Regions from separate parts of the Homo sapiens genome. Here all the other regions are linked to region 1. Evidence: promoter capture Hi-C in 16 types of primary human blood cells and fetal thymus (Javierre and others, 2016). All regions are on one chromosome and are shown on one strand. Each heading gives the region's core, a stretch centred on a gene start or on the middle of the fragment in contact. The rest is flanking DNA. Distances are from core to core; before and after follow the strand shown. Region 1 holds the start of NDUFAF4 (NADH:ubiquinone oxidoreductase complex assembly factor 4). Region 2 overlaps UFL1 (UFM1 specific ligase 1). Region 3 overlaps FHL5 (four and a half LIM domains 5). Region 4 overlaps LOC101927314 (a long non-coding RNA gene). Region 5 has its middle 4.7 kb from the start of FHL5. Region 6 overlaps UFL1-AS1 (UFL1 antisense RNA 1). Region 7 overlaps UFL1-AS1 (UFL1 antisense RNA 1).

What was found. The method cuts DNA at HindIII sites, captures the fragments that hold promoters and counts their contacts. A CHiCAGO score of 5 or more calls a contact.
Region 2: a fragment that was not itself captured here is called in contact with the fragment with the promoter of NDUFAF4 in region 1 in 15 of 17 cell types (naive CD4 T cells, megakaryocytes, naive CD8 T cells and 12 more); the score reaches 14.1 in naive CD4 T cells.
Region 3: a contact is called between a fragment that was not itself captured here and the fragment with the promoter of NDUFAF4 in region 1, in 1 of 17 cell types (naive B cells). The highest score is 5.8, in naive B cells.
Region 4: a fragment that was not itself captured here is called in contact with the fragment with the promoter of NDUFAF4 in region 1 in 1 of 17 cell types (endothelial precursors); the score reaches 6.3 in endothelial precursors.
Region 5: a fragment that was not itself captured here is called in contact with the fragment with the promoter of NDUFAF4 in region 1 in 14 of 17 cell types (naive CD4 T cells, naive CD8 T cells, activated CD4 T cells and 11 more); the score reaches 12.9 in naive CD4 T cells.
Region 6: a contact is called between a fragment that was not itself captured here and the fragment with the promoter of NDUFAF4 in region 1, in 1 of 17 cell types (naive CD8 T cells). The highest score is 5.4, in naive CD8 T cells.
Region 7: a fragment that was not itself captured here is called in contact with the fragment with the promoter of NDUFAF4 in region 1 in 7 of 17 cell types (total CD8 T cells, naive CD8 T cells, total B cells and 4 more); the score reaches 8.2 in total CD8 T cells.

Annotation. Positions count from the first base shown.
Region 1 is chr6:96,896,116-96,899,301 of GRCh38, forward strand. NDUFAF4 (NADH:ubiquinone oxidoreductase complex assembly factor 4) reads right to left here and starts at 1,776. Exons shown (of 3, transcript NM_014165.4): 1 at 1,551-1,776; 2 at 629-732. The coding sequence starts at 1,686. It also overlaps a transcript of KLHL32 not described here. RefSeq lists an enhancer at 1,599-1,698. The HindIII fragment of the contact is 8,617 bases long and covers 1-3,186 here.
Region 2 is chr6:96,540,982-96,544,393 of GRCh38, forward strand. UFL1 (UFM1 specific ligase 1) reads left to right here. Exons shown (of 19, transcript NM_015323.5): 12 at 1,913-2,035. Among named protein-coding and RNA genes, the nearest start is that of FHL5, 20 kb to the right of the region's middle. The HindIII fragment of the contact is 2,973 bases long and covers 18-2,990 here.
Region 3 is chr6:96,572,775-96,576,038 of GRCh38, forward strand. All of the region lies in intron 1 of FHL5 (four and a half LIM domains 5), which reads left to right. Among named protein-coding and RNA genes, the nearest start is that of FHL5, 11 kb to the left of the region's middle. The HindIII fragment of the contact is 2,828 bases long and covers 552-3,264 here.
Region 4 is chr6:97,402,342-97,405,955 of GRCh38, forward strand. All of the region lies in intron 1 of LOC101927314 (a long non-coding RNA gene), which reads left to right. Among named protein-coding and RNA genes, the nearest start is that of MMS22L, 120 kb to the left of the region's middle. The HindIII fragment of the contact is 671 bases long and covers 1,493-2,163 here.
Region 5 is chr6:96,556,662-96,560,278 of GRCh38, forward strand. No RefSeq gene overlaps it. Among named protein-coding and RNA genes, the nearest start is that of FHL5, 4.7 kb to the right of the region's middle. The HindIII fragment of the contact is 6,486 bases long and covers 1-3,617 here.
Region 6 is chr6:96,387,435-96,390,814 of GRCh38, forward strand. The region is part of intron 1 of UFL1-AS1 (UFL1 antisense RNA 1); the gene reads right to left. Among named protein-coding and RNA genes, the nearest start is that of UFL1-AS1, 130 kb to the right of the region's middle. The HindIII fragment of the contact is 4,389 bases long and covers 1-3,380 here.
Region 7 is chr6:96,499,452-96,503,105 of GRCh38, forward strand. The region is part of intron 1 of UFL1-AS1 (UFL1 antisense RNA 1); the gene reads right to left. Among named protein-coding and RNA genes, the nearest start is that of UFL1-AS1, 20 kb to the right of the region's middle. The HindIII fragment of the contact is 2,375 bases long and covers 419-2,793 here.

The DNA of each region.
Region 1 (3,186 bases), core at 526-3,025:
TTTGTTTAATGGCTGTGTCCTTCACAACATCATAGGCCCTGTGAAAATAAGGACTAGTTTTGTTCATCACTATATACAAAGCACTTGTGCCCAGGACTTACATAATACAGAATATGGATTTACACATAGGTTCCCATTCCTAATGTATTCTTTGATCCTTCTAATTTTAAATATCCTATCTGAATACATCCTTAAAAAAACAAACAGGAACACCCCACAAAATCCAACAACACCACTTACTAAAGGAGTCTCTGAGATTAGAACATACCTCAATCCACAGAAGAATGAGAAAATAATATTAAAGCTCTGCTTTTGTCACTCAAATGACAACCACTGGAAGTAATGCCTTACCAAATCCTACAAATTCTGAAATACTATGAAATAATTCACACAGTTGCTTGTATCAATACTTCCACAAGTTATTTTAGAATTCTGGTAAATATCCAGTGAACCAAGGCATAAGTGTCTTGCTGTCTTACACCAGTGTGCTTAAACTTTGCCAAGGCGTGTAGATTGATCACAACACACACTTGCAGAGCACTCTTTTTACTACTTGCCACACTTAATCATTTTCCTGAAGCCCCAAAATAAGTAAATTGTGTATTCACTTAATTAAACACACATTTACCTGCAAGGAAGACACAGGATCTTTGGAATCAACATACACATCTTTTAGAAACGACAGCAGCTTTTCATCTTTACGAGCAATCTCTCCTTTAACTTCTGGATAGACTAAGGAAAGGAAAAAAGTCACAATATTAAAATCAAGGAAAATTTCCTGTAATATCCTAAACGCTTAACACAAACGCTTTCTTTTATTTTCTTTTTTGAGTCGGAGTCTCGCTCTGTTGCCCAGACTGGAGTGCAGTCGCGCGATCTCGGCTCCCTGCAACCTCCGCCTCCCGGGTTCGAGAGATTCTCCCACCTCAGCCTCCCGACAAGCTGAGGCTACAGGCGCGCCACCACGCCCGGCTAATTTTTGCATTGTTTGTAGAGACGGGGTTTAGCCATGTTGGCCAGGCTGGTCTCGAACTCCTGACCTCAGGTGATCTGCCCGCCTCGGCCTCCCAAAGTGCTGAGATTACAGGCTTGAGCTACCGCGCCCGGCCTAACCACTTTAATTTTTTTAAAAAATAAACATAATCATTTGGACTGTTAGGAAAATACTTTAGATGGAAATCAAAATTCCAGGTCAGGCTCTGCGTCCATCGTCCAGTGAAGACCCCTAGAGAAAGCTCTGTGACCCTCTCGGATTTTGATTCCCTGTATCAAGTCCGTGACAGCAGCCGGCGAGGGCCTGGTTAGCGGGAGCACTGGCTGCTGCCTCTGGGTCTCGGAAGTAGGCGGGGCCGCCGACCTCACCGCGGGCGCGGAGGACAGTCTCAATGTCACCGGCCTGGCGGCTCCCCCTTCCAACGCTCCGCCAACCCGAGCGGCTGCGGCCGAGCAGGCTGACGCCGATCCCTCGGCCTCCGGACCCACGCTAGGGACAGCCGGGCAGCACAGGGACTCCGCGCCCCCGGGCCCCGAAACGCCCTCGCACCACTCACGACTAATCTGCTCTCGCAGGAGGCTGTTGGTAGAGGGGTGTCTGGGAGCGACAGAGGGCTTCATCTTGCTGATTTCCCGTTCCGCTCGGTTCTCTAGGTTGAAATTCCTGATACCGCGAATCACTAGTGCTCCCATCTCCTCATAACATTATGCGCTCAGGTTCAGGCCGCACGTGGGAACACCGGCGCAGGACAACTCCGGGACACCCGGAGCATGCGCACAAGTGAGGGGAAGCCCCGCCGCGGGCGCTTAAATGCGTGCCCGTCGCCCCCTAGCGCTCGGGAGGCCACACACCGCTTCTCTGCCCAGGGCATTTAAAAGGGAGCCCCTCCCTTCGGGGCGAGTGACGGCTCCCACGAGGGCCGCTTCCGGCGGGAGGTGGCGGGGCTTAAGTCCCCAGACCCACGGTTGCTTTTAACGCTGGAACTCCGAGGGAGTCACCCGGGAAGCTCTGTAAAGTTCTGTGCCGGGCCCTACCCCAGACTTTCTGATTTAATTCTTGTGGAGTGAGGCCCAGCATTGGATAAGACTCCACGTGATTCCAAAGTTTCAGTGAAGAGCTGAAAATCAAAGTCGTAAGGAAGTTGACCTTGAAGTTGTTTCACAGGGCAATGCCACCAAAGAGTTAGCCGATAAAAATGGAACTTACTGAACCAGGGTCAAACTGGGCTCTCAAGTTGCCCTTTCCTGCTTTTGTGAAAGGAAAATAATGAAAGGATGTTCCCTTTCGATGAGTATTTGTTCTCAGCCGCTCTCATTTAAATGCCTCTTATTTTCCTGTCCCCCCGCCTGATGCATTTTCAAGCCACTGTATTCTTTTTCCATTATTTTTTACATCCCGTTCTCATTTGACCTAATGGTATCGATTTTAGTTATACTTTCCCTTATCTTATTTTTGCTACTAATTTACTTCTCCATGCTACTAAATGCTGAGTCATTCCCTCTCCTATTTCTCTTCTCTCTTGCCTTCTTCATTCTTTTTAAGCCTCTGTGTAATTTAATGAAAGGAACAGACAATAAGACGTCAGAAAAAAAAAACAAACAAACAAAAAAACGAGTGTTACATTCACCTTCTCCGTCTCTCTCCATTTCCTGAATGGGTTACTGTAGTGCTGCTTTTATTTAAGACCCTTTAGAAATATTGTTATTAATCTAAAATAAAACCCACCAGGAAGGAAGCAGTAGGAAGGAAGTTACAGTATTTCTCTTACTGTGGCTGCAAAATCTATTTTTAGTGTTCTGATCTCTGCTTAGCAAAATGAAGTAGAGTGGATGTTTTTAACCAGCTTAAAGTAAGAAAATATTGATGTAAAGATAATCGAATAGAATAATAATAATAAAACAAGAATCAAAGAACCAAAATGAAGAAAGGGAAAGTTTTTTAAAAAGAAAACTAATGTAATCATTAAGTATAATGCTTAATCAGAGCAAAAGCACTGCAAGGAAGACGGCTTCAGCCACTCTAATTTAAATGCCCTTTATTTAATTATACTGAACATTTTTACAGGGATTGGTATTTGGAATTTATAGAAGCTGAAATCAGTGATCTCAGATAGCATTAACTGGGAAGTTATCCTGAAGGTGGCAGGCTGCTCCAAGATTTCTATCTTTGATACTTTTAAGCATGCTTGTGAT
Region 2 (3,412 bases), core at 254-2,753, 360 kb before region 1:
GGTCATATTCACCTCAAAGCTTTTACACCAACTGTTCCTTTTACCTGGAATGCCCTCTCCCAGACTGTAAGTAACTGGTGTATTCTTTTCATTCAGAGCTCGACTTTAAATGCCACTTCCTTAGAGAGGCCTCCTAACCCTTCGGAATAGTAGCCACAGTCACTCTCTGCCACCTCATTTTGTCAGTTTATTTGCATCACTTTATCACCATGATGTGTTTTATTGTTTGGGAACTGTGTTGATCTCATTTATTGTTGTACTCTTGCTACATACCCAAAGCACCACTTGATATATTTTAGGTGTCCTATAAACATACTAATTAAATGAAAAAATTTCTGAAGGACATATTTTTACATTTCTTTTTCTAATCTAAAGTCACTAGAAATTATTCTAGGTATCACTGATATGCTTGTAATTTGCAATGGAAAAGTAACATGTATTTCCATAGTTTTTATAGTAGGAACAGTGCTGTTAGTGCTTTATCGGAACTGAAGAAATTCAATATTCAACATTTTTCATTAATAAATACACTTCTAATTCTTTGAGATAGTTTATTTCCTCTTCCAGAATCTTTTTCTTAAAACTTTTCAATGGCATTATGAAATTTCTCTATTCTTCCAGGAAAATTAATAAATTACTTAAATCACAGTAATATTCATAGCTATGGATATTTTATCATATATTTGAAGATATAGTTATAAATTTGCCTTACTCAATTGATGACTTATGTCAGTATAACTAGTCTATTTAATATTTTATTTCTTATTAAAAGTTAAGGGTCATTTGGTGTTTTATTTTCAGTGATAATGCTATTGTATTATAATTGTTTAATTACAGTGTGTGGAATCATGTCAATCATGAATGTTCCCCCCCATAGGAAACTTATTGTCAAATATAAAAAGCATGTTCACTTTAGACTTATATTTTTGAAAATAGAATTTTTTTATTATAAAAGAAAGGGAAAAATAATAGAAGTTTAAATCTAGGATGTGATGAAATCTAAGGCAAATCTATTTAGAATTTAGAAAAAGATCTTTAGTAATCACTTTATTTTATTAAAAAGACTAATCTTTTACTTATTTTGAAGTAATATAATATAGTTGTAATATGTTCAATGGTTTAAACCCGTTATCAGTATTCCATTTTGTAGAGTAGATATTTTACATGTCAATATCAAAGAGCAGGGAAATGCTGAAGTAGTATTTTTTATTTTTATTTACAGTGTTTGCATTTGTTTCATAATTTGTTTTTTTAAGTCTATAGTCAATAGGTAATAATACTTTTATACTTAACCAATTAATATTCATGGTCAACATTTATGAAGCACGTGTTATGTTTCACGCATTTCTGTAAAGAATATATACATTAATGACACAATGATCCTTGCTCTTCAGAAGTTTATAATCTGTTTGAGTAGCAGATGAGTCAGGATATCTCCTCTAAAAACAGGTAATAATCTTTCAACAAAGAAGGCAAAATAAGAATAATTAAATTTGTGAAGTCTTATAATAGAAGGTTATTGATGAGGCTGTGGTAACACAGATGAGCAAAGGAGGACACATTTCTTTTGGGGAAGGTAGAAGAGGAGGTGAAGGAATGGATTTTTGTTAAGAAAATATTGAGAGTTACAGGAAAGAGGTGACGTTAGAGAAGGAGAAAGAGAATGCATTTAGAGCAGTCAGGCTATCTAAGGTAGATTGCTCAAAAGATTTCATATTTTATTATTAATTTTTTATGTATTGGATTTACTAAACTTTTAATAGGGAACTCCAAATTTAAAAAGAGTCTAAAAGTTTCTTTATTTTGCCTTTATTTTTTCTGCTGTAAAGTTAAATACAACAATATAGTGTCATTATTTTATAAAAATGATGATTTAGTTAGGTAATGCTAACTAATGTCATTTTCCCACCAGAGGGCAGTGGAAGCATGAGAGGAGGAGGTGGGGGCAATGCCAGAGAGTACAAAATTAAAAAAGTCAAGAAGAAAGGAAGAAAAGATGATGATAGTGATGATGAATCTCAATCATCCCACACTGGTAGGTAGCTTTTCTTTACTTTTCCTTGGTGTATGTGTGATATTTGTAACATATTTTCTTAAGATGTATATAATTAGGTATATATGCTAATACAGGAAGTCCTTATTTTGCAGTGTTTCAGTGACACAAATTTCAGTTACCACACTTTAGTTAAATGTTATCAGTCCAGTAACAACACTGTTTATCTTAAATATTAGATACAAAGATACTTCGGTATATTAACTGAGTATAGTATAAAGTAGCTCTTCAGTCCACAAATCAGTACATAAATAACAGATGCATATCATGATCTGTGACAATCACACCACTTATTGTATAGTTTGTCAATGATTGGTCACTGCACATTGGTTATTCCTTATGCACAAACAACAAAGCATGTAGCTGTATTGCCTAATTGTCTCCCAGTGATAAACGCTATGATATTTTACAGAAATGGATAATCAAAAAGAGAATTGGCCAACAAAGATAAAAGCGTAGCAAAGAAATGAAAAGTGATAACACTGAAAATAAAATTGGAATCAAGCATAAATGGAGTTATAGAGGGAATGGCTGACTGTGGGAATGTTGACACTGCCATTGCTCAAGAAAATGAGGAAAGTGGTTATGACAAAAAGGATGAAAACATCTTAGAGGATGTAAAGTGGGGAAAAACTTCACAATTCTTGGAGATATTCCAAGACATTGAAAAGGCAAGGGATAAAACATTGGAAGCTGATTCAGAGTTAGAAAGTGGTATGACAATTTATAAGGCATAGGAAAGGTACTTGGTCCATACTGCAAGTTAATTGATAATAAGAAGAAAGCAAGCACTGTTCAGACTATTCCTGATAAGTATTTTACACAGAAATAAAACACTTTCATTCTCCATGTTCTAATGTGTTAAAAATACAGCATATTAAATTATAAACATTAGTTTTATTTTTCATTTTCCTATACATTTATAACCAACAGTAAAAGCTTTTAATGTTTACCAAAAATTTTTAAAGGCCACAGAACAATTGTAATTTTTCCTATTGATTATTAAGAAAGCTTTGCATGGTTTCACCTTACCATGATCATTTTTATGGTCTTCCACTGCCATGCAAAACAAGTATTAGGATATTTTTGAAAAGTAGACTTGCAAATTTAAATAGGAAACATTAATTTTATGTACATTTTACTTTCATAGTAACACCTAACTGGTTGGTTGCTTATATCTAAGAGAGAGCATTAATTATATGCATCTTTCTTTTCCTAGACTTGCTAGTGCTTGGCCAAGAAAGTCTACAAGAGACATCTTTTGTTTTTCTAATTAAAATTATGATATTTTTAATTTTTCTGTTTAAAAAAGGTAAACTTAATGAAACCATGATACTGCCCTCTTCCTTATCCCCAGCA
Region 3 (3,264 bases), core at 716-3,215, 320 kb before region 1:
CTGCTTACCTCCTCACCATAAGAAGTTCCTCCTGGCTTCCAGCTGATCCCACTTGGGGGATGGGATGGTGAAGGCCTGGCATTTCCTTATTCTCTATGTAGCCATCCTGAGTTTTTGTGCTCACCCAAGTTTCTATTAGTTTTAAAATGCAGCTGCTTTTCCATTGTTCTGGCTGTCTTTGACAGAGGCATAAGCACTAGGGGCTTCTAGTTGGCTATCTTGCTGCTATCTCTCTGACCTTTAATACTTTTAGAAAGAAGATTAACCGTTCTCCTGATCAAGGTATCAAACTATTTATTATCTTTGACAGTACCAAAAAGTCATACATACATGTAATTCATTCATTCATATTTTCATTCATTTATTGATCAGTTAGATCAAGCCAATATAAACCTACTGAAAAAGTCAAGGTGTTCAATTTTCTTTATATCATGAAACTCTCTATTGTGCTAATGAACACTAAAGAGGCTCCTATTGACAAGGAACTGTCTATCATCAATTTTGACCAAATGCCTCTTAGTATAGAATTAAAATGCTTCCAATTTTCTTTAAGCTTTTTTGTCACATAAAGATCAACACTTCCTTAGATTCATGGGTATAATTTGCATTTGAAAAAAATCCGACACCAAGCTGTCATGCTATCTAAATTAAGATTTCATTTATAAAAATGATTTCTAGTCTTGTAATTACATTCAGTCTATTCATTTGTTCCCTTGAACATTTTGATAGTCACACTATCACAAAATATTCTAATTTTTTTTTTTTTTTTTTTTTTTTGAGACGGAGGCCCAGGCTGGAGTGCAGTGGCGCAATCTCGGCTCACTGCAAGCTCCACCTCCCGGGTTCACGCCATTCTCCTGCCTCAGCCTCCCTAGTAGCTGGGACTACAGGTGCCCGCCAACACGCCCAGCTAACTTTTTGTATTTTTAGTAGAGACGGGGTTTCACCATGTTAGCCAAGTTGGTCTCGATCTCCTGACCTCATGATCCGCCCACATCAGCCTCCCAGAGTGTTGGGATTACAGGCATGAACCACCGCGTCTGGCCCAAAATATTCTAATTTTTGACCTATAATTGTTTTTTAAATTAAACAATTATACTCCCATTTTTTTCAATATTTTTCTTATGTTTCCTTATTACCAAAGTGATAGATTACAGTATACAATTTGAAAGGTACTGAAAAGTAAAATTTTAAATACTCCTTAACTTCAATTAAGAGCCTTAACATTTCAGCATATTTTCTTCTAAACTTGTTTCTACTTAAAAAAAAAATTATATAATTGAGGTCATACTGATTATTCTATTTCACACTTTTTTTCCCACTTAGAGAATTATAAGCATTTCACCATGCCATTAAATACTCTTCCGAATACCATGTTAATGACTTCTAGTATTATTTTTAAAACCATTTAGTAAATATATATTCTTTAAAGTAGTGTACAGAAAGTTCTTTTCAAATCCTAATTAAACTTAAGCATACTTTAACAAACACCCAGCAAAATACAATTAAAAGCAGAAAATGTACTTTTAAACTTGAGATTAGGGATCAGCAAAATGTTTTCTACAAAGAGCCAGATAATACTTTAGTCTTCAAAATTACTCAGCTCTACTGTTGTACCTGGAAATAAGCCATAGATAGTATGATAATGAATGAGTGTGGCTGTGTTCCAATAAAACTTTACTTATGAACACCAATATTTAAATTTCATATGTCAAAAATATTCCTCTTTTGGTATTTATCATTTAAAAATGTAAAAGCGATGCTTAGGTTTCAGACCATACAAAAACAGGCAGTGGCTAGATTTGGCCCTTGAGCTACATATAGTGGCAGATCTCTACTGTAGAGCCTGATTCCAAGAACCCTGCCTTCCCAGGGTTTGAGAAATTTCTGTGAACATATGCATTCATATATATTTTTAAGAAGAGGTAAATAGCTTTTATTATATGCTAAATAGTTATTAAATATAAAATGGTTAAGAGTCACTATTCCAAATAATATATATAAAGTCACTTTATAAACCATAATTTCTTATTAAAATATATACTGGTACTTCACTTATAATATTCTTCACTTAGATACCAAATGATCTGAAAAAGATTGATTAGTAGAAATAAATTTATGTTATTATCAGAATTCCACCTGGGAAAATAATATCCAGAATCCAAAAAGCTAATAAACTTTAAAGAGAAAATAGGTGACAAGTTAAATTTTCGAAAACACTTAAAATAACAAGTAATGGTTATTTCAGTGAAGGTAGTTGGCATATTTATTGCTTTTGATTTTTTAGCTGAGCCAAGAGATTATTTTCATTTAAACTATAATAACTAGCATCATCAGAGAATAGGTCCTGCTGCCTAATTTAACATCCGGTTAACGAAAGTTAATATATGTATGTCTCTCTCATTCCTCTCCTCTCCCCGTCTCTCAATACACATACACATACATACAACAAACAGACCAAGAATAAAACTAGCTTTATTGTAACATTTGTTTAGATTGGAAAGTTCCACTTAATCATGTATATCTCCTTTCAGAATTCTAAAGCAAATGAGAAATAGATACATAAATCACGTATGGATCAATTTATTATCAACCTCATTATTGTTAATGCGGGAGTAGAAAACAAAACGTGCATGAGAGACCAAGCCCTTCCCTTCCCAGCCTGAACTGAGCTTCTTCCCAGAAGGAGTAGAGAGCCTGGATCTTACAGTGCTCCCTCATGAGCTGGGACTGAGCAGTTGGAGTGAACTCACTGCAGAGAGGGAACACAGGCCCATGCTTTGGCAACTTCCAATGGAGTAAGGGAAACAATGTGGCTCCACATGAAGTGCCTTTTGCCCAGTTACTTACCAGTTAAGTCACTCCTCAAGTGGCATAGAATGAGTGAATACTTTCAAAAGAGAGAAACTCCTTTAAAGGGCAAGCACAGAAACCAGGGGGAATGAGAAGTTCTCTCTTACGATCTTTAACTCAAAAAAAAATTCTTGATCTGTTTTAAATTTAGGATGTCAGTGAAAATTGTTGAAATACCAAGAGAGACTTTTAGTTAACAGAATACGTCATAGATCTACCTTTTCAGTATGGTGTTTAGTTGGCCAAAAAGAAAACAGTGGGCCAAATAAATCCATAGCAATGTGTAGTTAAGTTTTTAAAGCTCTGACATGTAAAAAGAACTAGTTTTATATGTGACCTTTTTGTTATCCAAGTATGGATACCACCCTCCAGTTCTAGTGGTGCTTGTGAGCTTGCAGACCACTCCCCTGC
Region 4 (3,614 bases), core at 578-3,077, 510 kb after region 1:
TGTGATGTTCCCCTTCCTGTGTCCATGTGTTCTCATTGTTCAATTCCCACCTATGAGTGAGAACATGCAGTGTTTGGTTTTTTGTCCTTGTGATAGTTTGCTGAGAATGATGGTTTCCAGCTTCATCCATGTCCCTACAAAGGACATGAGCTCATCATTTTTTATGGCTGCATAGTATTCCATGGTGTATATGTGCCACATTTTCTTAATCCAGTCTATCATTGTTGGACATTTGGGTTGGTTCCAAGTCTTTGCTATTGTGAATAGTGCCACAATAAACATACGTGTGCATGTGTCTTTATAGCAGCATGATTTATAATCCTTTGGGTATATACCCAGTAATGGGATTGCTGTGTCAAATGGTATTTCTAGTTCTAGATCCCTGAGGAATCGCCACACTGACATTTCTTAAAGCCAAACCTTTTTCTAAAATTATCAAACCATCCTTTGCTGGCATTAAATTCTCCAGCTTTAGGCCCTTTATCTTCTTTTTGCTATAAATTCTCATATAATGAGTTCACTTTTTCTTGAATCACATTAGAAAGACATAAAAGGTATGCCTTTCTTATAGCAATCCTGCACCCCATAAAAGCTGCATTTTTGATATGAGATTAAAAAGTATTTTGCACAAAGTGCAGGGTTATTGCACCTGCTGGAGTAGATGCAGTGACAAATGTATGAATTTCCTTTTCTTTTTTTTACATGCTGGATTCATTTTTCTTGAAATGGCAGGCAACTGCAGCTGCAGACTTCAATATGTGGTACTTGTCAAGCAATTTCACTTTTTCTTGTAATGTCATGACTTTCCCCTGCTTCTTGGGAAAACTTTCAGCATCACTTGTGGTACTTTGCATAGGTTCCATGGTATTACTCAAGGTTTACAGTATTGCAACAAACATGATGAAAAATACACAAAGACCATGAGAAATCACCTTTTACTGCTAAATTCATTTTATTGGAGAGAGGATCAATTCACTAAGAGATGATCAGCATCACATGGCGTTTTAAGCTAATACTAGCAACACTTGAGCACATTGCAATAGCAACAGGGGTTGGCTATGAAATTATTACAGTAGTACAATATGTACTACAGTTAATTTTATGTAGTTATGATTTAATACTGCATTTTTGTATTTTATTATATGTCTCTGGACTGCAGATGGCACCATGTATGGTCTGTAATGTTTGTGTGCATAAGTTTTGATAGTTTTAAAATGTTTATAATAGATTGGTATATACTTTAAGTGGTGAATGATAAAATGGACTGGTATCTACATATATTTTATATATTTATGACATTCCTAATTTTTTCTTAAATTTTTAAATATATATGGGCTACCTGGTTCATCTGTGAGCTTTTTCAAATTGTTGCAAATCTCCCAAAATTCTTTCAGTATATTTATTGAAAAACACCAGCATGTAAGTGGGCCTGTATTGTTCAAACCTGTGTTGTTCAAGGATTAACTGTAATATTATAACATCTTCAGTAAAAAGCTTTATTAAAAGTTTATTATTATTATTATTTTGAAACAGGGTCTCACTCTGCTGCCCAGGCTGGAGTGCAGTGATGCGATCATGGCTCACTTCAGCCTTGACCTCCCAGGGCTCAGGTGGCCCTCCCACCTCAGGCCCCTGAGGTTGCAGGCCTACAGGCATGCAACAGCATGCATGGCTAATTTTTGTTTGTTTTTTTTTCTTTTTTTGGTTGAGACGAGGTTTCACCATGTTGGCCAGGCTGGAAAACTTCCAAACTTCCAAATATTTTGGATATTTCAGTTTAAGAAAAGGATACTGTTTTCCTCCATATTTTCTAAAGAGAGAACTTGTTTAAGCAAATTAGTGGTTGAAATAATGTTGTAAGGAGATATTTACTTAGAAGAACTTAAACAGATTTTTGGAAATATTTAGTTATAAAAAAACAACAAATGGCCTTGTATATGAGGTTAGCATTATTTAGACTAGTACACAGTAAGATAGTACTTTTCCAAGGTAACATGGAATATTTTCATATATAAGGGATATATCTGTTACATTAGGCAAATATTTTAAATATGTATTACATATTATATATCTATTACTCCATATACATTCTAATAGAGAATTCTAAAAAGTTAAATAAAACCTTAGTGATTCTACAAATAAAGGAATTAAATAATTTATTAAAGCTTACCAATACTGTCTACTATGGAAATAAGCAGCACAACCTCAACTTAAATGTGCAAACTCAGATACCGTATCTGGCCCTCTGCAATATCTTTCATGAGCACAATCTTTAATTGATGTTCAGTAAAGGGAGATATTGTTCCACTTTTGGCTCACAGCCCTTAAGAAATCATTCTGAAAAAGTGTTGTGCTGTGACCCAACACTTTTTATTGAACTGCCAGTTCATGTGTGAGAGGTCCTTCTGTTTGCCCTTCAATGTCCTGGGGTTTAAAGGATAGCAAAAGCCTGACTTAATCACCAGGCCTGCAGCATGGCCACAGTGCAGAAGGACCATCTTTCTCCACCACTCTAATGTTCACAGTTCCTTTTGAGATGCATTGGTTCCCAGAGGTGTATTCTTCAGTATAAGCTGGCTTGGGTCTCGCTGAGCACTTATTGTCCTTTTCCTTTAGTATCTCTTCAACTCTGAAGAAAATACTTTGCTCAGCAGCTAATCTGCTTTCCCTCATTGCCTTGATATCATGCACAAAGAAAAAAAAACTTCTTAAAATCCTTTTACAAAACTTTGTCCATGGTAATAGAGTCTTTGACAACTCTTCACCACTGGGCAAGTGCAGGCTTTCTTTGGCACTTCACATTTTTCTGAGGGTCATAATTCCTGCAAATAGTCATACACGCAGGTTAACCATGCTTTCAACTTTCACTGAAGTTCTGTCCATTGATAGGTGAATTAATTTTTCACTATTAGAACATTCACTTTTGGTGGATTTGCCAGTGCTCAAGTGATTGAGTTGTGGACTTCTACATTCTACACTTTAATTTATTCTATGCTTGTATTTTTAGACAACAATCACTTAAGAATTTTTATTTTCATTTTATTATATTTGCTAGCAGTTAACCTTTTCTGATAAACTTTTCTGATTTTATACAAAAACCAAAGCTAAGAAAAAAAAGAAAAGAAGAAATCAATCCCTCAAGAGCATTACTGTGCTTGAAATTATAGGCTGAAAGCAACAAAATAGGACGCTGAGTGTGATGGAGACCCAGGCTTACGTGCTATTCAAATAGCTTGCTCTTGCCTGTCCAAGAGAGATCAGGTCCCTGCTTTTGTTAAATCGTGAATGACTCCACATTCTGAATCTGTAGGGTTGTTTTTAAATTGTTGAATTTAAAAATAATTTAAACATCATGAAACAATTTAAAAACATGAATTTAAAACATGAATTTAAAAACAATTTAAACATCAATTTAAAAACAATCGTGAAAGATAAACCTTGCTTTGCCCCAGTTCCAGATATTAAATGTTCTGCATAACAATGAAAATTGTGTTTAAAATGTTTTACAAATTTTATTCAATTATTGTTTTAAAGTAAAGTTTTTTAGTATGTGGCGAAATAAATACTTGTAGGTACATTTAGTTTGTTAAAAGAAAAACTTTAGAGAAAAAGTT
Region 5 (3,617 bases), core at 625-3,124, 340 kb before region 1:
GGTACAGTCTCCTCCTGGCTGCCTTCATGGGCTGGCATTGAGTGTGGCATTTCCAGGCACATGGTGCAAGCTGTCAGTGGAGCTACCATTCTGGGGTCTGGAGGACAGAGGCCCTCTTCTCAGAGCTCCACTAGGCGGTGCCCTAGTAGGGACTCTGTGTGGGGGCTCCCACCCCACATTTCCCTTCTGCACTGCTCTAGCAGAGGTTCTCCATGAGGACCCCGCCCCTGCAGCAAACGTCTGCAGGGGCATCCAGACGTTTCCATACATCTTCTGAAATATAGGCGGAGGTTTCCAAACCTCAATTCTTGACTTCCGTGCACTCGCAGACTCAACATCACGTGGAAGCTGCCAAGGCTTGGGCTTGCACCCTCTGAAGCCATGATTAGAGTGGTTGGGATGCAGGGCACCAAGTCCCTAGGCTGCACACAGCACGTGGACCTGGCCCACGAAACCATTTTCTCCTAGGCCTCTGGGCCTGTGATGGGAGAGGCTGCCGTGAAGATCTCTGATACGCCATGGAGACATTTTCCCCCATTGTCTTGGTGATTTAACATTTGGTTCCCTGTTACTTATGCAAGTTTCTGCAGCTGGCTTGAATTTCTCCTCAGAAAATGGGTTTTTCTTTTCTATCACATTGTCAGGCTGCAAATTTTCCAAACCTTTATGCTCTGCTTCCCTTATAAAACTGAATGTCTTTAATAGCACCCAAGTCACCTTGAATGCTTTGCTGCTTAGAAATTTCTTCCACCAGATACCCTAAATCATCTCTCTCAAGTTCAAAGTTCCACAGATCTCTAGGGCAGGGGAGAGATGCCACCAGTTTCTTTGCTAAAACATAACGAGAGTCACCTTTGCTCCAGTTCCCAACAAGTTCCTCATCTCCATCTGAGATCACCTCAACCTGGACTTTATTGTCCATATTGCTCTCAGCATTTTGGGCAAAGCTATTCAAGTCTCTAGGAAGTTTCAAACTTGCCCACATTTTCCTGTCTTCTTCTGAGCCCTCCAAACTCTTCCAACCTCTGCCTGCTACCCAGTTCCAAAGTCACTTCCACATTTTCAGGTATCTTTTCAGCTGCACCCAACTCTACTGGTACTAATTTACCATTTTCATGCTGCTGATAAAGACATACTCAAGACTGGGCAATTTACAAAAGAAAGAGGTTTATTGGACTTACAGTTCCACATGGCTCGGGAGGCCTCACAATCATGGCAGAAGGTGAAAAGCGCATCTCACATGGCGGTGGACAAGAGAATTTGTGCAGGGAAACGCCCCTTTTTAAAACCATCAGATCTCCTGAGACTCATTCACTATCACAGGAACAGCACAGAAAAGACCTGCCCCCACATTTCAATCACCTCCCACCAGGTTCCTCCCATGACACATGGGAAATATGGGAGTTACAATTCAAGATGAGATTTGGGTGGAGGCACAGCCAAACCATTTCACAGAAACAAATGGGATTTTTTCTATCAAGAAGTAACTGATGTGAGTTGGGAGGGAGTAAGAGGATGGAAGATTTACTTTCTTTCACTAAGACCAATGAAGAATTTCCCCCAATACATGGGAGATGTAATAAATGCACACACAAAACTCCCCTGGGATGTACATTTTCCACACAAATCTGGGAGCACTGTTCAAGTGGCTATTTAAATGACCTGCAAATTCACACAAGTTGCTCTATCTTGAGGACCCTACTAAGCGTACAACAGAATAAATAGATCCAGGAGAGGCTTCTTTCAAACCTTCTAAGAATGAAACTGACTTTCAGGCTTTCAGAAAAACAATTTGTATTACACTTACATCATAAAAAAGAAGGAATAACCACTGTAAACATGTATTCAATGTTTATAAGTTCCCAGTGTTGTATTATTTGTTTTATCAAACTTGCCCCTAGTTGCATCTCTATTTCTCTGAAGTGATTAGTAGTAAGACAATCTGGGTGTTTGTTTTAAGGAGCAGGAAAGACAGGATTACATTGATGGTGAAATGGAGGAAAGGGAGAACATGGTGAATTTATGGACTTGGCCTAATTTACTCGATCGTGTATGACAGCTAAATACTAGGAAGGCACATATCAACTTTAAAGGTATGTTTTACTTTCAAAGAAATAACAAGTCAATAATTACAGTTAAATATAGTGTCTTGGTAAAAGTACACAGAGGGTGTTGTGACAAGAAATGAAATTTAGACTGTGTTGCACAATGGGGAGGCTGGAAATAACACCTGAACCAAGAGTCCAGAGAGAAAAAAAGAAGGATTAGCCTTGGTGAAAATGAGAGAAGGGAAGGAGAGCATATTAAGGCAGAGAAAAGGAGGTACAGAAGTACTATGACGCTAATTAGAATGAAATAATGAGATGTGGGGAGCCAAGAAGTCTGAGAAATATAATAACTGATCTGGGGAAGTAGTGTAAGATAAAGTAGAGAGAATAGGGGGGTTTTGAAATGCCTTAAACACTAAGCTACAAAGTTCAACCACTATCTCAAAAACATGGAAGCCTTTAAAAGATTCAACTAACCAGGGAAATTAAGTAATTACATTTGTCTTCTAAAAAAATTACATTCTGGAAAGCAATTTGGCAATTTACCAAAATTCTTTAAAATGTACATATTATTCGTGAAATTAATGTCTTCCTTTTCTGAGAATTAAAATGACTAAAAAATGTATACGAGTCTTTTTTCCCAGCCTCTAGTAGAGAGGAACATGGACACCTTCTCTTGCACAGAAACAGGCCAATCTTGGCTCTGAAATAGTCTATTCAGATACTAGTCTGCCAAAGAAAAACTGCGATCTGACTAGTCAACCTAAGACAAAAGTCTCAAAGGTTGTCTCATGTTTTGTGTTACTCAATGTAAAGAAGTAAAAGTGCTTTGTCAAACTGTTTTACTACTGAGCCTGTCTTTACTCATCTAAAATGCAGTCCTTAACCTAATTCTATCATACAGACTTCAGAGTTGGGTAAGAACTTGAAGACTTGACACATAGAACATATTGTTGTTTAAATACAACCTAATAAATGTAAATGTACTTAAAGTCAATGTTCTAGATTTTTCTCCTTTCCTCTTTTCAGTCTTAATCTCAGTCCTGTGATTTGTATGTTTTAAATGCTGAGTGTATCTTTTGGTGTTGAAAAAAGAGAGAAAAAAAAGGAGAGCTATTCCATTATGTATTTTATTACATAGCAACTATTTGTTATAGCCACTTTAAAAATATTTTATTGGCTTGTCCATCAGTGAATGACTGGATAAAGAAAATGTGGCACATCTACACCATGGAATACTATGCAGCCATAAAAAAGGATGAGTTTGTGTCCTTTGCAGGGACATGGATGAAGCTGGAAACCATCATTCTCAGCAAAGTAACACAAGAAGAGAAAACCAAACACCACATGTTCTTACTGATAAATGGGAGTTGAACAATGAGAACACATGGACACAGGGAGGGGAACACCACGCACCGGGGCCTGTTGTAGGGTGAGGGGCTGGGGGAGGGATAGTATTAGGAGAAATATCTAATGTAAATGATGAGTTGATGGGTGCAGCAAACCAACATGGCACATGTATACATATGTAACAAACCTGTATGTTGTGCACATGTACCCCAGAACTTA
Region 6 (3,380 bases), core at 532-3,031, 510 kb before region 1:
TCCTAGTAATATGTATTTGAGAAGTTCCTTGAGTGATTGTTTTGCATACTGAAGTTGGAGATCCATGGACTTATCCCCATTTGTTAAGGACCTTGGAATCAGATGGGCCTGAGATCAAGTTTATAGATAAAGCCTTGAGTAAATTACTTCTTTATTATTAGGCTGGTGCAAAAGTAATTCAGGTTTTGGCCACTTTTTTTAAGTAATATGGAAAACCACGATCACATTTCCATCAACCTAATAGCTTTAGTTTTCATGTCTACAAGAACAGCTTAGTATCATCAACTATACAGGGTTATCAAGAAGATAAAATTAGATGGTATTTATAAATAAGTAGTATAATGTATTTTATGTAGGCCGTTCACCAAATATTTACCATACTTCCCATTTTTATCTTCAGGCATAAGGTAAAAACAATACTGATGCCCTATAGAAAGCAAATCCTATCACACCAGTTTACCTAACCCTAGGTTGTATCTGTGTAAATCTCCAAAGATATAGCTTTAGTTGCCTTAGTTACTGAGTAGTCTAGTAAGTATGACAGTAAATTAGAAGTCAACGGACCAGGAAAAAACTATAAACATGACAGTAACTTAGAACCAATAGACCAGAAAAAAATTGAATGAAGTTAGCGTGTCAAATGTTATAAAATGCATTTAAGGAGAACATTTTGCCAAGTAGGGTTCACCTAACAATGAATGCTGTTCATGCATGCATTGAAAATCTACAGTGTGATCAGCATTATGCTTCCTAATATGGGAAATTCACAGGAAGTTCCAAATGTGACCTCTACCCCCAACGACATGATATTTAATTGAGTTATAAAAACAAAAAACACATGAAAATTTAGGATACAAATTTAAACCATGTTTTTATTGAATTAAAATATAATCAACACCATGTGTAAGATTGTATTATTAGCTAGAAGAGGTTCAGATGAATGCAAAGTTCCTTAAATATCTTAGAAACAGGTTGTCAAGAATGGTGTCTGCACAGCTAATATAAGAGGTAACCCAGGGAGGAGGAGGAAAGGAATTACAGAGTGGGTTAATATGGAACTAGCCCCTTTCAAATTTCATTATTAGAATTTCTGTAGTAAAGCCCTTTTAAATTATCTCCTACTTTTATTGTTTCATTGTTCTAGGGTGTGTGTATGATTAAATTGTATGATTAAGTACTAAACTAAGAACCTAAATTTGTCTTTCCTATGATGAAAGAGAAAAAGCACTGTGGAAGTCTAGAGGAGTGCTCCATGATGAATTTGGGAGAAGAAAATGAAGACAATTGTGTTTGGGGCAGTCTTCACTGGAAGAAGTGTATAGGTTAGATTTGAAAGGAAGAGACTTTAAAACTAGTTGGCTATTATTACAGTAATAAAGTATGGAATGAGACCTTAAGTCAGGCTTGGATAGCTGAAACAAAGACAGTATTGCCCTCAAGCAAAGGAAACATCAGCAAAGGAACATGGTTAAGAATGTATATGGCATGTCCATGGAATAATGAAAAGCTAGTAGGGCTTCAGTAGCTACCCAAAGTCATGTTAGGCAGAGAGGATGTGGCTGGACCTTGGAGAGACTAAGGAGCCTGGCAAGGGGTGAAGATTTTGTTCTATTGAAGTAGGATTTTGTTCTATTGAAGTTTTTTTAATGGCCAAGAAACAATGGTTAACAAATAGGATCCTATTAATCATATTGATTCATTCAATAACTAGTCACTGGCAATTAACATAGTCAAAGAAAAATGCTAGGCATTGTAGGAAATAAAATTGATTAAGACATAGTACACTGCTCTCAACACCAGTCAAAAATGAGGGCATAAGATAACAAAAATAATTATAATCACAGTGGAATGTAAATTCTAGAAGGTAAATACATGACAATACTATGAAGGAAGTAGGTAGCCTATGAATGGTGGTAATTCATGATATTTAGCTGGGACCTTGAAGGATAGGTGTTATGTAGGTAAAGATAAGAAGAGAGGACTTCTGAGAGGAAAACAGTGCAAGCAAAGACTGTTCACTTCAAAAATATTGAATGCTTACTGTGTGCCAGGTCCTGGACTTTATACTGGGGTATAAAGACTTATCACTGTCTCTTCCCTTAAGAGCTTAACACAGAAAAGCAGAGTGCGAGTTCTCAGTGATACTTGGATAGTTCCATTCAGCTAGAGCGTGTATATAAGAGGAGGTAATGGAATGAAGCTGGAAAGACAAATTGAACCAATATTAATGAGAGTCTTAAATGCCAGGACAATATATACTCAGTTCTCCTGGGTATGGAAATAACTGAAGTCTGTTGTTAACAGTTTTTATCAGAAGGCAATGAAGACAATTGTGTTTGGGGCAGTCTTTGCTGGAAGAAATGTATAGGATAGATTTGAAAGGAAGAGACTTTTAAACTAGGTGGCTATAATTACAGTAATAAAGTATGGAATGATAATAGCCTGGGATAGCTGGTGACACCAGAGTAATTGTAAAAGCTCATGTGTGTCAAGAATATGTTAATGCTTTAATCATTTGCTAAGGAGTTATGCAAATCATCTTGCTTACTCCTCATAATATCTCTTCAAGAAGGGTGCTGTAATTATACCCCATTGACAGAGGAGTAAACTGAGCACAAAGACATTTTAAAAACTTTCCCATGTTTTACAACTAGTAAATGATGAAACTAGATTCAAGCATAGGCAGCCTCCAGAAACTGCTTTTTACCTACTGACTATAGTGTCAAAAACAGCTATAAATTTTGAACTCATATGTCTAAATAAAAAAATAGCTCAATTAACAAATACAAAGAAGTTTAAACACTTTTTTCACTTAAAAACTTTATCAGCTAAAAAAAATATACCATTCTTTTTCCAAATTTCCCTCACTGAAAGGTTTAGTGGTTTTCAAATTCAATAATAGAATTTTAACAGCAGAATGTATCTCAGAGAATAACTCAAACCTCACAACTTTACAGAAGAGGGCATTGAGACCAAGACTAAGGGAATGCCCAAAGTAAAAGAGCTAGCTAGGGGTTGAACTCACATTAAAATCCATACCTCCTGTTTTCTTGTCACTATAGTATAGCACTCTGATTTTATCATATCATATTTCTATTATGTTTTTCATAGTGAGCATGGAAGATCACAATACTGAGTCACAAAGGGAGAGATTTTTACTTATAAATTACAGAAAGATGTGTGAATGGTTACATATTTACTCACTAAAAAATCACAACAGTTAGTATATTAACAATTATGCCCATTATCCATTTTAGCAGTTTTGACACATGAATTCATCTTCCACAGTGGATTTTCGGATAATGATGTCAAATTGTTCTGCTTCCATATTATAACAAATCCTTTGTGAGAAGATAGATCTGTGTACTACTTGTTACCTC
Region 7 (3,654 bases), core at 356-2,855, 400 kb before region 1:
TTTGGTGTGGATGTCCTTTTTATTGATGTTGATGCTATTACTTTCTGTTTGTTAGTTTTCCTTCTAACAGTCAGGTCCCTCAGCTGCAGGGAACTGCTTGTCCCTGCTGGAGTTTGCTGGAGCTCCACTCCAGACCCTGTTTGCCTGGGTATCACCAGCAGAGGGTGCAGAACAGCAAATATTACAGAACAGCAAATATTTCTGCCTGATCCTTCCTCTGGAAGCTTCTTCCCAGAGGGGCACCTGTCTGCATGAGGTATCTGTTGGCCCCTACTGGGAGATGTCTCCCAGTTAGGCTACACGGGGGTCAGGGACCCACTTGAGGAGGCACTCTGTCCATTCTCAGAGCTCAAATGCCCTGCTGGGAGAACCACTGCTCTCTTCAGAACTGTCAGACAGGGACGTTGAAGTCTGCAGAAGCTTCTGCTGCCTTTTGTTCAGCTATGCCCTGCCCACAGATGTGGAGTCTACAGAGGCAGTAGGCATTACTGAGCTGTGGTGGGCTCCACCCAGTTTGAACTTCCTGGCAGCTTTGTTTACCTAGTCAAGCCTCAGCAATTGCAGACTCCCCTCCCGCCAGCAGGCTGCTGCCTTGCAGGTCGATCTCAGACTGCTGCACTGACAGTGAGCAAGGTTCCATGGGGGCGGTACCCACCAAGCCAGGCACAGGAGGGCATCTCCTGGTCTGCCAGTTGCTAAGATCATGGGAAAAGTGCAGTATTTGGGCGGGAGTGTCCAGTTTTTCCAGGAACAGTCTGTCACCACTTCCCTTGGCTATGAAAGGGGAATCCCCCGACCCCTTGCACCTCCCAGGTGAGGTGACACCCCAACCTGCTTTGGCTCACCCTCCATGGGCTGCACCCACTGTCCAACCAGTCCCAGTGAGATGAACCAGGTGCTTCCATTGGAAATGCAGACATCACCTGTCTTCTGTGTCGATCACACTGGGAGCTGCACACCGGAGCTGTTCTTATTCGGTCATCTTGGAACGGAGATCATTCCTGTCCATTTTTAATTTAACATTTCAATTTCAGCTTCCCTTCCTCCAGGAATGAATGGGTCGTCTCCCTCCAGTCTCTACTCCTGATCCTCTCTCTTCTGGTCTACTCCAAGATTCCCATCAATTATTCCCCAGGCTCTTCCTTATCAAATATGTGTTCCTCTTGACCTATAATCATGCTTCAGTCTATTTTGTCTTTAAAAAACAACACAAAGTAAAGCAAACAATAATGCCATGCAGCATTTCTAACTCTACTATTTGTTTTTCATGCTACTTCTCACTCATGATATCTTGTTTCATCAGTTTTATAGTTTGGAATTTAGAGTTCAGTTAATCTAAATGTATGGAAATATTGAGGGAGTCTGAGTTAAATGTAGATATTTCTAAAGAGTAATTTTATTCTCTTCTGCCAAATACTCATGATCACATTAAATTAATTTTTAGATTTATGAGTATAAAAATACAAATAACAATTCCATATAAGCCAGGGCTATATCTAGGAACTCTTAAGAAATACATTATATTTGTCCTACCTAGAGTCAGGGCCAAGAACAAACAAATAACTTTGTCATGTGTCTTTGCTGGTGGGTAGACTTCTTTTTTTCCTGGTTTGTCTTTTCACTGTGAAAATATCCCTTTGGGCCGGGCACAGTGGGACACGCCTGTAATCCCAGCACTTTGGGAAGCCAAGGCGGGCAGATCACAAGGTCAGGAGATTGAGACCATCCTGGCCAACACGGTGAAACCCTGTTTCTACTAAAAATACAAAAATTAGCTGGGCATGGTAGTGCATGCCTGTAATCCCAGCTACTTGGGAGGCTGAGGCAGGAGAATCACTTGAACCAGGGAGTCAGAGGTTGCAGTGAGCCAAGATCATGCCACTGCACTCCAACCTGGTGACAGAGCAAGACTCTATAAAAAAAATCCCTTTGAAGGAAATGACTATATAAACCACCTTAGGTAGGCACAAGGTATTACTGAATCATGAAAACACAAGTCTCTTGGCATCATAAAATACTGTCATGCAGTCACAAGTCTGGTATTGGCTTACCATACCAAATTCCTTCTTTTTAAAAATTTTCAGACAATAGGGAATTCCCTTGTGAATTTAAAGAATTTGTTGAATTATATATAGCACATCTCACAGTAGGTGATCTAGTTTTTTATGTTGCTGGAAACAGAAATCTCCATGTTTCTTTATCAGTAGAGATGGGTGTACTATCTGTCAAGATAATGCTGTAATGAATAACTGTGATTACAGAGAGCTCCAAAATACCAAGTTTCATATCCTGTAAGATATTTATATTTTAATTTTAATTCATTTTCTGGTAGAAAAAAATTAATCCAAGATTCTTTACCATTTATATTAAAACAACAGGTTAAAAAAAACTATGTCACACAGTTAACTATGAAAATTATATTTAACACAGTTTCCATTTCAGAGAGATGAGAAAATTAAGCCTTAAAAAATGCAAGCAAATTGCTTAAGGCCATAAAAAATTAAGGGATAGAACTAATATGTGCATTTAGAGTTCCTTTTTTAAAAACCCACAGTAAACAATACGATTATATCCTCTGACCTCCAATAACACGAATATTGACCAGACAGTATAAAGTAGCTATCTTTAGAATAAAAATAGAAGACCTACAAAAGAAACCAAGACATAATAAAAGAGGAAGAATCTATTAAAAAAAGAAGAAAAATTTTAAAATAATAGAATGGAACTTATAGCTGTGAATATCTTGCAATTGCTCCTGACTTCCAGTAATTGCAAACAAAGTAAATCAGATCAAGCTTCAGGCTCAGAGCAACTATTAATACTTGCAAAATATTTTTTTAAAAATCTGTTCTATGTCATTTGAACATTAAAGAGGCAGGGGTGAATTAAAAGATCAAGATATTTAGGGGAGAAAATGAAAAAGACAGAAGAGTTCTGCAACTGGTGCCATTTTTTTTTTCTGTCCACGCTCATATCAGAAGAGGCACCTGAGAGAATCAGGAGCTTTGCAAAACTTTGAACAGATTCATGGTGCCAAGGGAACAAAAATTGGAGTTCATTGCCTGCCTAGGACAGGCAAGTGGCAAACATCTGGGGCTTTGAGACCACAAAGAAATATACTCTAGAAATCCGTGTTTATGATTTTTTAAGTGGGCTTTTATAAGCCTTGATTATATCAAGGTGATCTGGAATTACTAGCCACCTACTAGAAAAAAATATATAAATCCTCTTTGGTGGAAGATATTACACACTTAAATTATCTCTACTACTTTGTATAAAATGGGTAGTTTATATTAAAAAATAATTAGAATAACAAGGAGACAAGACAACATGATCACAACCAAGAGAAAAACAGATATCAGAAACAGACAAGAGAAAATTCAAAATTATAAAGTTATTAGAAATAGATGTTAATATAGTCAAGGAAATAAAAGACATAATTTAAAATATTGTCAGATAGCTAAAAATGTAAAGAACAATCCAATGAAAATTCTAGATATGAAAAAATGCAATTACTGAAAAAATACTCAATATATGGGTTAACAGTAAATTAGTCATAGATGAAAAAAGAATAAATCACCTGGTAAATTGGTCAGAAGAAAATACCCAGGATGAAGTATAAAGAGACAAAAAGAAGGAAAAATAGAGAAAATT